2 separate regions of the Homo sapiens genome follow, and region 1 is linked to region 2. The links are contacts of gene promoters, found by promoter capture Hi-C in blood cells and fetal thymus (Javierre and others, 2016). All regions are on one chromosome and are shown on one strand. Each heading gives the region's core, a stretch centred on a gene start or on the middle of the fragment in contact. The rest is flanking DNA. Distances are from core to core; before and after follow the strand shown.

Region 1 (6,236 bases), core at 2,675-5,174, 2.7 Mb after region 2:
TCACCATGTTGGCCAGGCTGGTCTCAAACTCCTGACCTCAGGTGATCCGCCCGCCTTGGCCTCCCAAAGTGCTGGGATTACAGGGGTGAGCCACCGCCCCTGGCCTTTTTTTTTTTTTTTTTTTTTTTTGAGACAAAGTCTTGCTCTGTCACCCAGGCTTGAGTGCAGTGGCATGATCTCGGCTCACTGCAACCTCAGTCTCCCAGGTTTAAGCGATTCTCCTGCCTCAGCTTCCCAAGTAGCTGGGATTACAGGCGCATGCCACCAGGCCTGGCTAATTTTTGTATTTTTAGTAGAGACAGGGTTTTGCCATGTTGGTCAGGCTGGTCTTCAACTCCTGACCTCAGGTGATCTGCCCGCCTCGGTCTTCCAAAGTGCTGGGATTACAGGCGTGAGCCACTGTGCCCAGCCAGTAGTATAGTTGTGGTTTTTGAATAATGGAATGTTTTAAGTTTATTTCCTTAAAAGAATGTTTATCATACACTGTTTTCTGGTAGTTTTAGAAGTAGCACAAATCCTTATGCTCTGCTACAAGGTCAGAACTGGTAAAGAAAGGTGTCTTCATCCAGGCGTGGTGGCTCATGCCTGCAATCCCAGTACTTTGGGAGGCCAAGGCGGGCAGACCACCTGAGGTCAGGAGTTAGAGACCGGCCTGGCCAACATGGCAAAACCCCATCTCCACCAAAAATACAAAAACTAGCCAGGTGTGGTGGTGCATGCCTGTAGAGCCAGCTACTTGGGAGGCTGAGGCAGGAGAATCGTTTGAACCTGGGAGGCGGAAGTTGTACTGAACCGAGGTCATACCACTATACTCCAGCCTGGGTGACAGAGCAAGATCATGTCTCAAAAAAAAAAAAAAAAAAGTCTTCTAGTTAAATTTTAGTGAGAGATTTTCACAGGAATTAAAATTCTGGGGCCTTAAAAAATCTTAAGTATGCTTTGCCATAAGCTTCAGGGACCGTGTCCATGTTACTTGGCTGTGTGTAGTCATGAATATGATCTTTTAGGATAGGACAGCAATTAAACAAACTAGATTTTTTTTTCTTTCTTTAAAAAAAAAAAAAAGAATACATTTGTTAACCTCCTGTTTGGAAATTTTACAAGGAGCTGGAGAAATTTTCACTTTTGTGTTTACTGATTGATTGTGTACTACCTTAACTGTTGGAAAAATATATTCCCTATTCAGATGAATGATAAACCAGTAAAAGCTATGAAAGGGAAAAAATGTGATGGGATTACAGCTGCCACAGAGAGGTTTTTGAAGCTTTGCACCTTGTTTGCAATTGTCATTAAGATAATGGAAATTTTGAAAGATGATCTTAATGTCTTCAATATTGTTATAATTAGGCTTTTTTCTTTGTAAATGATGTGTCTTAATTTGAAAAGTTTTCCTTTAGGAGCTTCTTTTTTTTTTTTTTTTTGAGCGGAGTCTTGCTCTGTCGCCCAGGCTGGAGTGCGGTGGTGCGATCTCGGCTCACTGGAGCATCTGCCTCCTAGGTTCAAGCAATTCTCCTGCCTCAGCCTCCTGAGTAGCTGGAATTACAGGCACCTGCCACCACGCCCAGCTATAGGAGCTTCTTATGTTATGTGAACACTATGAGTAAACAGAGTGGTATAGTTTAAACTTGCCTTCCAGTTTTTCCAAGTTCCTCTTTCTCCAATTCATTGTCTTTGCCTCGGGGTTCTTTTTCATTAATATGTATGGATGTTTACGCAGTTAGAAAAAATGTTCATAAAGATGATATTGTTGAGTGCTTACTGTTTCTGGTCCTTTGATAATGTGGTGTGCTTTTTACTTTTACACAGAAAATAACTGTGGTCAGATTGTCATGCAGTTTGCCATAGACAGTAAGGATATTGTGAAAGAAATTCTGGCTGTCTGCATAGCATGACCTTTCAAAACTGTTTTCTTTGCTGCAAGCATTTCACTTAGCCTTTTGACTGCCACATGATAGAGGAAGTAGTACATAAAGGGTAATATAAATGGCTGCCTTGTTGGTCTCAATACTGTTTTTTAAACCATGTTAAATAGTCACATGTTATTAAATAGTTTTATGTGGAGGATTACCAGTTTTATGCATAGTATAGTACATTTTAAGTATAATTTTATAAAACTTATAGTATTTAAAATTTAAATACAGGCTGGGCACGGTGGCTCATGCCTGTAATCCCAGCACTTTGGGAGGCCGAGGTGGGTGGATGACCTGAGGTGAGGAGTTCGAGACCAGCCTGGCCAACATGGTGAAACCCCATCTCTACTAAAAATCCAAAAAATTAGCTGGGCATGGTAGTGCGTGCCTGTAATCCCAGCTACTCAGGAGGCTGAGGCTTGAACCTGGGAGGCAGAGATTGCAGCGAGCCAAGATCGCGTCATTATACTCCAGCCTGGGTGACAAGAACAAGACTCCATCTTAAAAAAAAAATTAAATAGAAAATCACATTATTTTCAAAAAGGACCTAAACTTTTTATTCAAAGTTTTAAGGATTATTAGTGAATGGAGATTATTATATATAGCTCATGACTACAAATCTGTAATTTTTGTGAGGAGACATTTTTAAAGCAACCTTTGGAGCTCTCTTTCTGCTGCTTCTGAGCACCCAGGAGAGACTGTTTTCTTTAACACTGTGAAGAGAACTGGGGAAAATGAGGAAGCTCCAGCCTGATTTTATTTTACTTTTATTTTATTTTATTTGAGATGGAGTCTTGCTTCATATACTCCAGTAAATGTGGTCATGCTATATATATTCTTTTGTTTCTTTTAACATTGTTGGTAAGGTTCATTAATGGTGATGTGTGTAGCTGTATTTTATTCATTTTTCCTATTGTAAACTATTATTTATTGATCTATTAATGTACATTAGGATTATGCCTAGTTTTTTGTTACTATGAAAACTTTCACCTTAAACATTCATGTGAATGTCATATCCTCAGATAAGCATTTTCTTTTTTTTTTTTTTTTAAGTATTTATTGATCATTCTTGGGTGTTTCTCGGAGCGGGGGATTTGGCAGGGTCATAGGACAATAGTGGAGGGAAGGTCAGCAGATAAACATGTGAACAAGGGTCTCTGGTTTTCCTAGGCAGAGGGCCCTGCCTGCTTCCTTCCGCAGCGTTTGCGTCCCTGGGTACTTGAGATTAGGGAGTGGTGATGACTCTTAAGGAGCATGCTGCCTTCAAGCATCTGTTTAACAAAGCACATCTTACACCGTCCTTAATCCATTTAACCCTGAGTGGACACAGCACATGTTTCAGAGAGCATGGGGTTGGGGGTAAGGTTATAGATTAACAGCATCCCAAGGCAGAAGAATTTTTCTTAGTACAGAACAAAATGGAGTCTCCTATGTCTACTTCTTTCTACAGAGACACAGTAACAATCTGATCTCTTTCTTTTCCCCACATTTCCCCCTTTTCTATTCGACAAAACTGCCATCGTCATCATGGCCCGTTCTCAATGAGCTGTTGGGTACACCTCCCAGACAGGGCGGCGGCCTGGCAGAGGCGCCCCCCCACCTCCTGGAGGGGGCGGCTGCCGGGCGGGAGCTTCCCCCCGCCTCCCTCCGGGACAGGGCGGCTGGCCGGGCGGGGGCTGCCCCCCACCTCCCTCCCGGACGGGGCGGCTGACCGGGCGGGGGCTGCCCCCCATCTCCCTCCCGGACGGGGCGGCTGGCCGAGCGGGGGCTGCCCCCCACCTCCCGGACAGGGCGGCTGCTGGGCAGAGATGCTCTTCACTTCCCAGACGGGGCGGCTGCGGGGCGGAGGGGCTCCTCACTTCCCAGACGGGGCGGCTGCCGGGTGGAGGGGCTCCTCACTTCTCAGACGGGGTGGCCGGGCAGAGACGCTCCTCACCTCCCAGACGGGGTGGCGGCCGGGCAGAGGGGCTCCTCACATCCCAGACCATGGGTGGCCAGGGAGACGCTCCTCACTTCCCAGACGGGGTGGCGGCCGGGCAGAGGCTGCAATCTCAGCACTTTGGGAGGCCAAGGCAGGCGGCTGGGAGGTGGAGGTTATAGCGAGCTGAGATCACGCCACTGCATTCCAGCCTGGGCAAGATTGAGCACTGAGTGAGCGAGACTCCGTCTGCAATCCCAGCACCTCGGGAGGCCCATGCGGGCAGATCACTCGCGGTCAGGAGCTGGAGACCAGCCCAGCCAACAGGGCGAAACCCCGTCTCCACCAAAAAATACAAAAACCAGTCAGGCGTGGCGGCGCGCGCCTGCAATCCCAGGCACTCCTCAGGCTGAGGCAGGAGAATCAGGCAGGGAGGTTGCAGTGAGCCGAGATGGTGGTAGTACAGTCCAGCCTCCGCTCGGCATCAGAGGGAGACCGTGCAAAGTGGGAGACGGAGACGGAGACGAGAGGGAGAGGGGGAGGGGGAGGGAGAGGGAGAGCCTTTTTTTGTTTTTTGATACAGAGTCTCTCTCTGTTGCCCAGGCTGGAGTGCAGTGGCGTGATCTTAGCTCATTGCAACCTCTGCTTCCCGGGTTCAAGTGATTCCACTCAGCTTCCCAAGTAGCTGGAATTACAGGTGCATGCCACTGCACCCAGCTAATTTTTGCAGTTTTAGTAGAGATGGGGTTTCACCATGTTGGTCAGGCTGGTCTCAAACTCCTGACCTCAGGTGATCCACTTGTCTTCCAAAGTGTTGGGATTACAGGCGTGAGCCACTGTGCCTGGCCCGGATAAGCATTTTCGTAGAATATTATACCTAGTAATGCAATTTTTGATGCTAAACTCCCTTTGGAAGAGGTTAAATCAGTTTATTCTCCCATAAGCAACGATCTATGAAATGGCATCTCAGTGTGGTTTTAATTTACATTTTCTTGGTGACCAATGAGGTTGAACATTTTCCCCCATATGTTTATGGGTTATTTGGGCTTTTGGGAAACTAATTATTATCCCAATTTTTTTTGTTGGATTCATGTTCTTTATATGTTCTTTTTCACACTGTAACTTTCAAAAGTTGTTTATTTTATCATTTTTTATTTATCTGTTTGACATTCTTCATTGAATCTCTTGTTCTTTTGCATGAAGAACAGCACCTTAATTTGACCTACCAGCCTCCCCAGTACCATTCTGCCCCTGTACTCTGCTTGTTGAATTCCATAAATGCTTAAGGTTTCTCAGGTCTTTGCATATAGTCTTTCTTTCCTTGCCTGCCTAGCTAATTTCCTGTCTTACATTGTCTCTGTTAAAATATCACCCTCATGGGCCATGGTGGCTCATGCCTCTATTCCCAGCACTTTGGGAGACCAAGGCCGGGGGATGGGGATCACTTGAACTCAGGAGTTTGAGACCAGCCTGCGCAACATAGTGAGATCTTGTCTCTACAAAAAATGAAAAAATTAGCTGGGTGCCATGCACCTGTAATCCCAGCTACTTGAGAGGCTGAGATAGGAGGATCATTTGAGCTCCAGAGGTTGACGATGCAGTGAACTATGATTACACTACTGCATTCCAGCCTGGGTGGCAGAGTGGGACTCTGTCCCAAAAAAAATTAAAAAAAAAAAAATCACCCTCTTTATCTGCCTCAAATTAACATGTTTTAACCTCTACATTTGTTTATGAAAATAAAATAATTCTCATCAGAAGATTACAGAGGAAGAGGAGAGCTGTCGATATGTTCATTTCTGCCAGGGGATTTTAAAATGCATTGTGCAGAGTAATGAACAAGGATAAAAGTTGTTGAGCTTCAGCAGGAGTGAATGATTTGCTGGTGTCATAATGGTAGCCTCATTAATGATATCCCCCACTGCTCTTCATAATTCTGTTTTCTGTTTGGATGAAGGGTGATAAGGAAAACAGTGATATTGGACTGACTGAGGGAGGATATGTGGGTTTTAATCATGGCCTTGCAGCTACTTAGATTATGTGTTTGACTAAATTAGTGAAGGCTAAATTGCTGTCAACAGACCAAAAATGAATAATGGTCCAAACTTAATAGACATTTATTTCTCACTCGTGGAACAGTTAAGTTGGATGGCCCTCTTTGGTAGGTGGTTCTCTTTCAAATGGTTTCTTCCATCTTGTGACTCTGTCATCCTCTATTCCACTATGACCAGTGGAAGAGGAAAGAGAAGGTGTAAGTGTCACACCAACTTTCTTAAATTAAGCCCTGACCTGAAGTGACACAGGTCATTTCCACTGAACATTCCACTGGAAAGAACTTAGTACATGGCCACTTCTAATTGCACAGGAAGTTGGAATGTGTATCCGCTAAGTGCCCAGCCACAATCCTG
Region 2 (7,220 bases), core at 1-2,500:
AAGAAAATAATGCTAATTTTCGACAAATGCAAAAATAAATGTTATTGATCTCTCTTACAAACAGAAAACAAAAAGCACTTCATCTAAATAAACCACTGTGAAAAAAAAAATGGCAACCTGACACCAAAGGGTCGTTTTTAAAACTAAAATGTTCAAATGACAGAACTCAAATAATCTGTCCACAGTAATGCTCGGACAACTCTGAGCAAAATTTCGTATTTAGTCAACTGGTAGGCTCGCTCACTAAAGTAGCAATTACACGCATGAGAAGGAAGGGAATTAAGCGGGCTGAGTGCGGGCTGGGTGATTGTGTTTTGAGACCTGCTCACAGGAAGCCACTACATCCTGCCTTTAGTCCCGCCTGTCACGCCGTCCCTCGATTCAAGTCCCGGCCGCAGCGAGGTGGGGCAAGTACAGGTGTCCCGCCGAGCTCCTCCCGGGGCGCTCACCCGCGAACAGACCGCGCGGTAGCCACTCGGGCCCCAGGGCGGCCCGTTTCCTGCAGCTCAGGGCGCCTTTTTCAACCTCTCCCAGGCTCGCCGAGCCCAGGAAACGAACAGCCCCCTCCCCTCGGGCCAGCCCCACTTCCCAGCCCGCCACCTCCTCGGGCCGCGCCTCCGTATAATTACTGCTCGGCTCCCACCGCGGGGCCACTCCCCAGCGCCCGCAGCCGCGCGAAGGCCTGAGTCTGAGGGCGGCCGGAAGCTCCTCACGCCCCCGGACCGCGCCCCCGGCCGCGCCCCGGACTCCAGCGTCCCCGCGTCCAGGCCGCTCCCCACGACCGAGCCCCTCACGCCGGCGCAGCCCGGGCTCTCCCACCCCAGGCCCATCTCCAGCTCCCACTCCCTCCGGAGAGCAGCAGCCCCGGCCCACGCCGCCCCGTCGAGGCGACGCCGCCCCCCAACACACCCCCTTCCAGCCTCAACCGCGCCCGGCCCAGGCCCCCTCCCGGGCCCGCGATCCCAGCGCAGCTCGGCGCCGCCACCGCCGCGAACCCGCCGCCCCCTCAGCCTCGCGCCCAGCGCCGCCAGGGCGTCCCCTCAGCCCAGCCCCCGCTTACAGATCTTGCCCCGCAGGCTCTGCAACACTCGAACCTCGCGACTGTCCTGGTCCCCGGCCTCGGGCTCTGCAGTCGCACTCGCCGCTGGCGCCTCGGAAGAAGCCGCCGCAGCAGCAGGCGCCGCCGCCGCCATGGTGCCGCCCGGCCCGTGCCGCAGCCCTGCCGCCTGCGTAGCCGGGCGAGGCGGAGCCCAGCAGCGGCCTAGGCCCAGGCCAGCCGCGCGCCTGGCCCCGCCCCCGGGCCTCGGCCCGACTCGCCCCGCCCCGCCCCGCCCGCCGCGGCCCCGCCCCCGCCCCCCCCGGGTCTCCATTCACCGCCTTCGCCACCCCCGAGCCGGGCTACCCTGCAGAGAACCGTACTCCCGGCTTGGGGCGCTGGCTAAGGGTAGCTCCCAGTCGTGGCTCTGAGCGGCCTTAAAATCCCCACCAGGAGAACGCCCCGGCCCTCCCGTGATCCCTAAATCCTCCCGGGAATTGGGCTCCCCCAATGAATAGACCTGCACATCTCCTAACGCTCGCGGGAAATACAGGCCCTTCCCAATCAGGGAAACTCCCTGTGGGAAGAAAATAGAATGGAATTTGGCAGGTGGGTGGACCTCAAAAGTATCTTATTCAAAAGGAGGCAAGAGATGCATTTGAGGCTCTTCCAGTATTATCCAAATACTCCCCGCCAGCAAGCCAAACTCCTCCCACACAAATACTCTTTACTAGGACCAATTCTCTGCAAAACCTGGTTCAAGAAAAGGACCAGCCACCCCCAACTCCAGCGTGAGTGCAGTGCCTGAGACCCTCTCATAGAGAAATTCTGAAGCATTTACCATCACTTTTGTATTTCAGGAACAGAAAAAGCAAAGAAGGGCTCCCCCCCGCCACCGCCACCACTACTAAAAGTTGGCTTTGTTAAAAAGTTGACTGACCCTAGGAAATGTGTAAATCTTTGACTAATTGTTAGCTTTATTTCAAGGGAACTCTTTACAGTGAGTAAACTGCATGAATAATACCCTGGTATGTGATGAGGAAGACAATTTCCTGGTGTTGAGGTTGTTAACTACGCTGCCCTAAGAAGGAAGAAACTGTGACTTAATCGGGCAGGGTAATTCTTTTCCAGGGCAACAACAGGAATAAGCCAGTCAGTCAACAAATATTTTTTGAGGGTCAGACATAGTGATGGCCTCAGACCTCAGAGACTACACAAAGGTCAAGATGAAGAGAGCTCCAGCTCATTCTGGAGGGAGACACAGAAAAGGCCAGAGGCACTGGGAGATAAGAAATAGGACGGGGAAACCTGAAAACTGAAGACAAACGCGCCGCCTGTGCAAAGGCTGGACAGCCCCAGAGAATGGTCAGAGTTTAACATGGACCTGGCCAGCGAAGCTTCCAGTTCTGCCTGTGTTGCAGGTGACTTCTATTTCCCCATGTGATCTTTACACTTGTTGGATAAAGTGAACCACTTCCTCTTATATGAATGTTTTGCTGTCATTTCAAACATAAGTCCAAAACTTAATTTCCTGTCTCCCTTTCCAAATCTGAGTTCACATCTTATACTGTTACTCAGGCCAGAAACTTTGACTTTTTCTTATCCCTTGTCCCAATGCTGTTTTCAGTTGCCACATCCTTCTGACTCTGCTGAAATCTCTTCCTTCCTTTCCATTCTCTGTCATTGCCCTTGTTAAAATTATTCTCATTTAAAGAGTATCAACGTGTTACAGGGTTTTTTCCCCCTTATTTTTAAAGGCATCCCTTTTTAGAATCAGACATAGAGCCTGTTTCTACCCCTTTTACATTTGGGCAAGTTACTCAACCTTCCTAAACCTGTTTCTGTTTCTTCTCTTTCTTTCTTTCTTTTTTTTTTTGACAGTCTTGCTCTGTTGCCTAGGCTGGAGTGCAGTGGCACGATCTCAGCTCACTGCAGCTTCAACTTCCTGGGCTCAAGCTATCCTCCCATGTCAGCCTCCTAAGTAGCTGGGACTACAGGTGCGCGCCACCATGTCCAGTTAATTTTTGTATTTTTGGTAGAGATGGGGTTTTGCCATGTTGCCCAGGCTGGTCTTGAACTTCTGGGCTCAAGTGATCCATCCGCGTCAGCCTCCCAAAGTGCTGGGTGTAAGCCACTGCGCCCGGTTGAACCTGTTTCTTTAACAGTAAAGTGGAAATGCTAAACTTTCTTCTTTGAAGGGTTGTTATTAAGATTAAATAAGTATTGGGAGCAGGGTGTTAAGTGTCTAGTGGAATGCTGAGCACGTAGTAGGATTACCTCAGTAACTGACCTCATGCTTTTGACTGGAACTCTGGTAATAAGTCCCCCATCCCTCTCATTCCTCCTACATACCACTTAAATTAACTTTCCTAACAAAAAAAATGGAGCTTATCAGTTGCCTGCTCAAGAGGACATCAGTGGCTTCATTTATCCCTTCAGCCAGCTAGCAAGAGCACACTACAGGTAATGAACAATGCTAGAAATGACTAAAGTTCAAATTCTTCAGCCAAGAGTTGGAACTGGATCCAGCGTACCTGACTCCTCTGATCTCCAGCCACACTGAGCCCCTTTTCTCACCAGCCTGATTCTGGCCTTCCTCCTGCTTGGCCAAGCGATGCCTCATCCATCTATTTCTTTCTCCAATAAACAGAGAAATTATTTGAACCTTTGGACAAATGTATCCATGGATAAAGTATCAATGTACAAATGGACAAATGTATCCAATGGACAAACGTATCCAATGGACAAAGTATCAATATCTTTGTCCATTAGTGTCAAAATCTTCTAACTTCCCTTCCTTTTCACTAGCTTAACCCCAAGTGCATAACTCTGTTACTAAATGGTCACTAAAGGTATGAAAACAATTTTACATAAAGGGACACTCCACTTTTTTGTTCTTCCAGACAGTCTTCCTTTTGCAGATTTCGGACTTATACCGTTTCACTAAAATCCCCAAACTCCATTGCTTTTTCATCCGAAGTCACTTCTAATTATTCTGTTTTTACTGATACTTGCCTACTTTGAAGAGATCTTGGGTAATGTCAATGTTTCCTTAATATAAAATATTTGGAAAATAAAGTTTTCTTTCTTTCTTTCTTTTCTTTTTTTTTTTTTTAAGATGGAGTCTTGCTCTGTTGCCCAGGCTGGAATGCAGTGGCGCGATCTCGGCTCACTGCAAGCTCCGCCTCCCGGGTTCATGCCATCCTCCTGCCTCAGCCTTCCTAGTAGCTGGGACTACAGGCGCCCGCCACTGCGCCCGGCTAATTTTTTTTGTGTTTTTAGTAGAGACGTGGTTTCACTGTGGTCTTGATCTCCTGACCTCGTGATCCACCAGCCTCAGCCTCCTAAAGTGCTGGGATTACAGGCGTGAGCCACCGCGCCCGGCCGAAAATAAAGTTTTCTAAAGACTAACAAGACATACAGTATAATTACGAGAAGGCTGTTACATCTCATTCCCCTTATTGCCCTTGCATTATGTTTTAAATTCATCTAGAGTTCCTCTCTTTTCTTCATGATGTTTAGTAACTGGAACAATATTGCATCATCACAAACTTGAACTTCACTTCCTTCCTCAAATTATTAATGAATGTGTTTAAAGGCCATCCCTTCTATCCCTACCACTCTTCGTTCTGATGAGCAACCATTCACTACTATGTCTTTTCCTATTTCTTCACCAGTTTTAAACTCATTCAGTCATTTCAACCCATACATTGGCTTGCTTTATGGCAGATGATGTAGGAAAACTACATTGTCTCTTAATAAGAAGACTATAACCTGCAGCTAGAAACTAATTCCATAACTTGTCTGTTACGGCATATTTTTGAATCAGCACCCACCAACCTATAACATGGCATTGTAAGGGGTTGTCTCCTGGCCTTGAGTTATTTATTACATTTTTTCTGGCGAGTAGGAGGAAGAGAAATGTGCTTTCTTTTTAATATTTAAATGTAGATCATTTTCATAGGGCTGGACACTCATGAGACAGAACTGTTTCTGCCGGACTGGTGGGAAAGCAAGTTCCTTTGATCATTGATGACTTGGTTTCCCCATTTGCCCCATCAGAGTACTGTTTGATGTTAAGCATTATGCACTAATTACATTATTAAAAAAAAATCTCTAAATCCAACTGGCATTTTAAAAAATAAAATTGGAGTGGTAGGAGGTGAGGAGAGACCTTAAATGTTCAGAAAACATACTTTCAACATTTCATTTGAAGACCAAATAAGGCCATTGACAAGGCTGTGTGGACAAAAATGTGGACAAATTTTTACCTTAAAACCTCCAACTCCTTCGGTACAAATATTTTCAAGGCCAGATGTGATGGCTCATGCCTGTAATCCAACAGTCGGTTGTAATACCAACTTTGACAGGAGGATCACCTGAGGCTAGGAGTTCAGGAGCAGCCTGGGCAACACCGTGAGACTCTGTCTCTACAAATATAAATAAATAAATTAGCTGGGCATGGTGGCACGTGCCTGCCTGTACTCCTAGCTAATCAGGAGGCTGAGGTGGGAGGATTGTTTGAGCTCAGGAATTTGAGGCTGCAGTGAGCTATGATCATCCCAGTGCACTCCAGCCTGGGTGACAGAGAGAGACCCTGTCTCTAAAAATAGAATTTTTTTTTTTTCAAATTCTGTCACCTCTTGCAAGAGAACTTTAAAGGCCTGAATATCTGAGCACAATACAGCTGATGCCCTTAGGTCAGTGTGACTTCAGTTATTTCTCAATCCCCCTCCTTTTGAACTATTTTGCCATATCCATTCCATCTGCAGTGCATTCTTGTCATTTTAGTGATAAAACAAAACAATGGGTGTAGGCTGGGCATGGTGACTCATGCCTATAATCCCAGAACTTTCAGAGGCCGAGTTGGGTGGATCACTTGAGCCCAGGAGTTCAAGACGAGCCTGGGCAACATAGTGAGACCCCAAATCTATTAAAAAAACAAATCAAAAAACAAAAACAACAAAAACCCCCAAAACTCAAAACCAACCAAACAAATAAAAACATACAAAACAATAAGTGTAAAAAGAAAACTGGAAATGTTGTGCAGCCATTCACTTGTTTCATTTTCTACTCTGTATTCATTCATAAACAGGACTTTATTGGGTTAGCTTCTTTGCAATTCTTTTGGCTTTTGCCTCATGGTCACAATATGGCTCCTGTACCTCCAAATATCTCAACATCCAATGGCAGGAAGGTGTATTTTTTTTTTTCTAAAATGTCTTTTTCATTACTTTCAGTGGCAAGATCATAGTTACTTTTGCACCAACCTAATATTAGGGAGGAACGCTTTTCCAGGTAGCTTTCCTGTAAATCACCACCATGAGGTATCTTCTTAAGGCTCATTTACAATCACAAGGAATATATAATTTTCTTAGTCTAAGCAACATTGATACCCCTGGGTCTGGGGATGAACCCTCCTTCCCAAAGTACATTGCTACTTGAGACCTGAAGCCTGAACCAAACCAGTGTTTTCTTGTGACACAGAAAGGGGAGCAGTAAGACATGGAGTAGGCAGCCAACTCTGTTCACCATATCAACATACTTATCTTCCAATAATAGTGCCTAAGTTCAAATGAAAATATTTCAATACATTTAATGCCCAATCTTCACCTCCTGACTTTGTCTCACAGAACTGGCCTCTTTTTCCTTTAGGCCATTATGTACCATGTATATAAGAATACACATAATCATTGTAGTGCTCATAACACATTTACTATTCCTGTTTGTTTACCTGTCTGAAACCATCTCAAAGACTGGACAATGTTTTGTCTTTGCCTCCCTAGCGCATAGAAAATATAGAAGAACACAGAAGGCACTTATTAAATGTTTGATAAATGAACGAATGAATGAATGAGCAAATAAATGAGATAATGTGTTCAGAGAAGCTGCTAACAAATGAGCCTAGAATTCTGAATTTAAAATCCACAAGGGAAATCAGAGCAGACCACAGAACCAGCTGGCTGGGTCTGGGCTTTGCAGAAAGCTTAGGTGCAGAGAAAAGGCAATAATAGCTCAGGAGTCAGATAAGGAAGGAGAAAGGGAAAGAGTCAGGGTCTGAGGTTTCCAATCCTCACACTGGGCTGGGGCTGCGTCTGTCACAAGCAGCTCATTTTTGTCAGAGACAGCCAAGGAGAGCAGAAGCTCATCGATCATAATCTGTGTTCTAAACGTAGGCTAGATA

The links. Contacts are between HindIII fragments. The CHiCAGO score rates a contact against its expected background, and 5 or more counts as called.
Region 1: a fragment that was not itself captured here is called in contact with the fragment with the promoter of RASA2 in region 2 in 1 of 17 cell types (neutrophils); the score reaches 6.1 in neutrophils.

What each region holds. Positions count from the first base shown.
Region 1 is chr3:138,782,550-138,788,785 of GRCh38, reverse strand. The region is part of intron 2 of PIK3CB (phosphatidylinositol-4,5-bisphosphate 3-kinase catalytic subunit beta); the gene reads left to right. Among named protein-coding and RNA genes, the nearest start is that of PIK3CB, 49 kb to the left of the region's middle. The HindIII fragment of the contact is 5,316 bases long and covers 1,267-6,236 here.
Region 2 is chr3:141,481,057-141,488,276 of GRCh38, reverse strand. It overlaps RASA2 (RAS p21 protein activator 2), which reads right to left and starts at 1,250. Exons shown (of 24, transcript NM_006506.5): 1 at 1,061-1,250. The coding sequence starts at 1,193. RefSeq lists a silencer at 462-1,341. The HindIII fragment of the contact is 5,296 bases long and covers 1-2,435 here.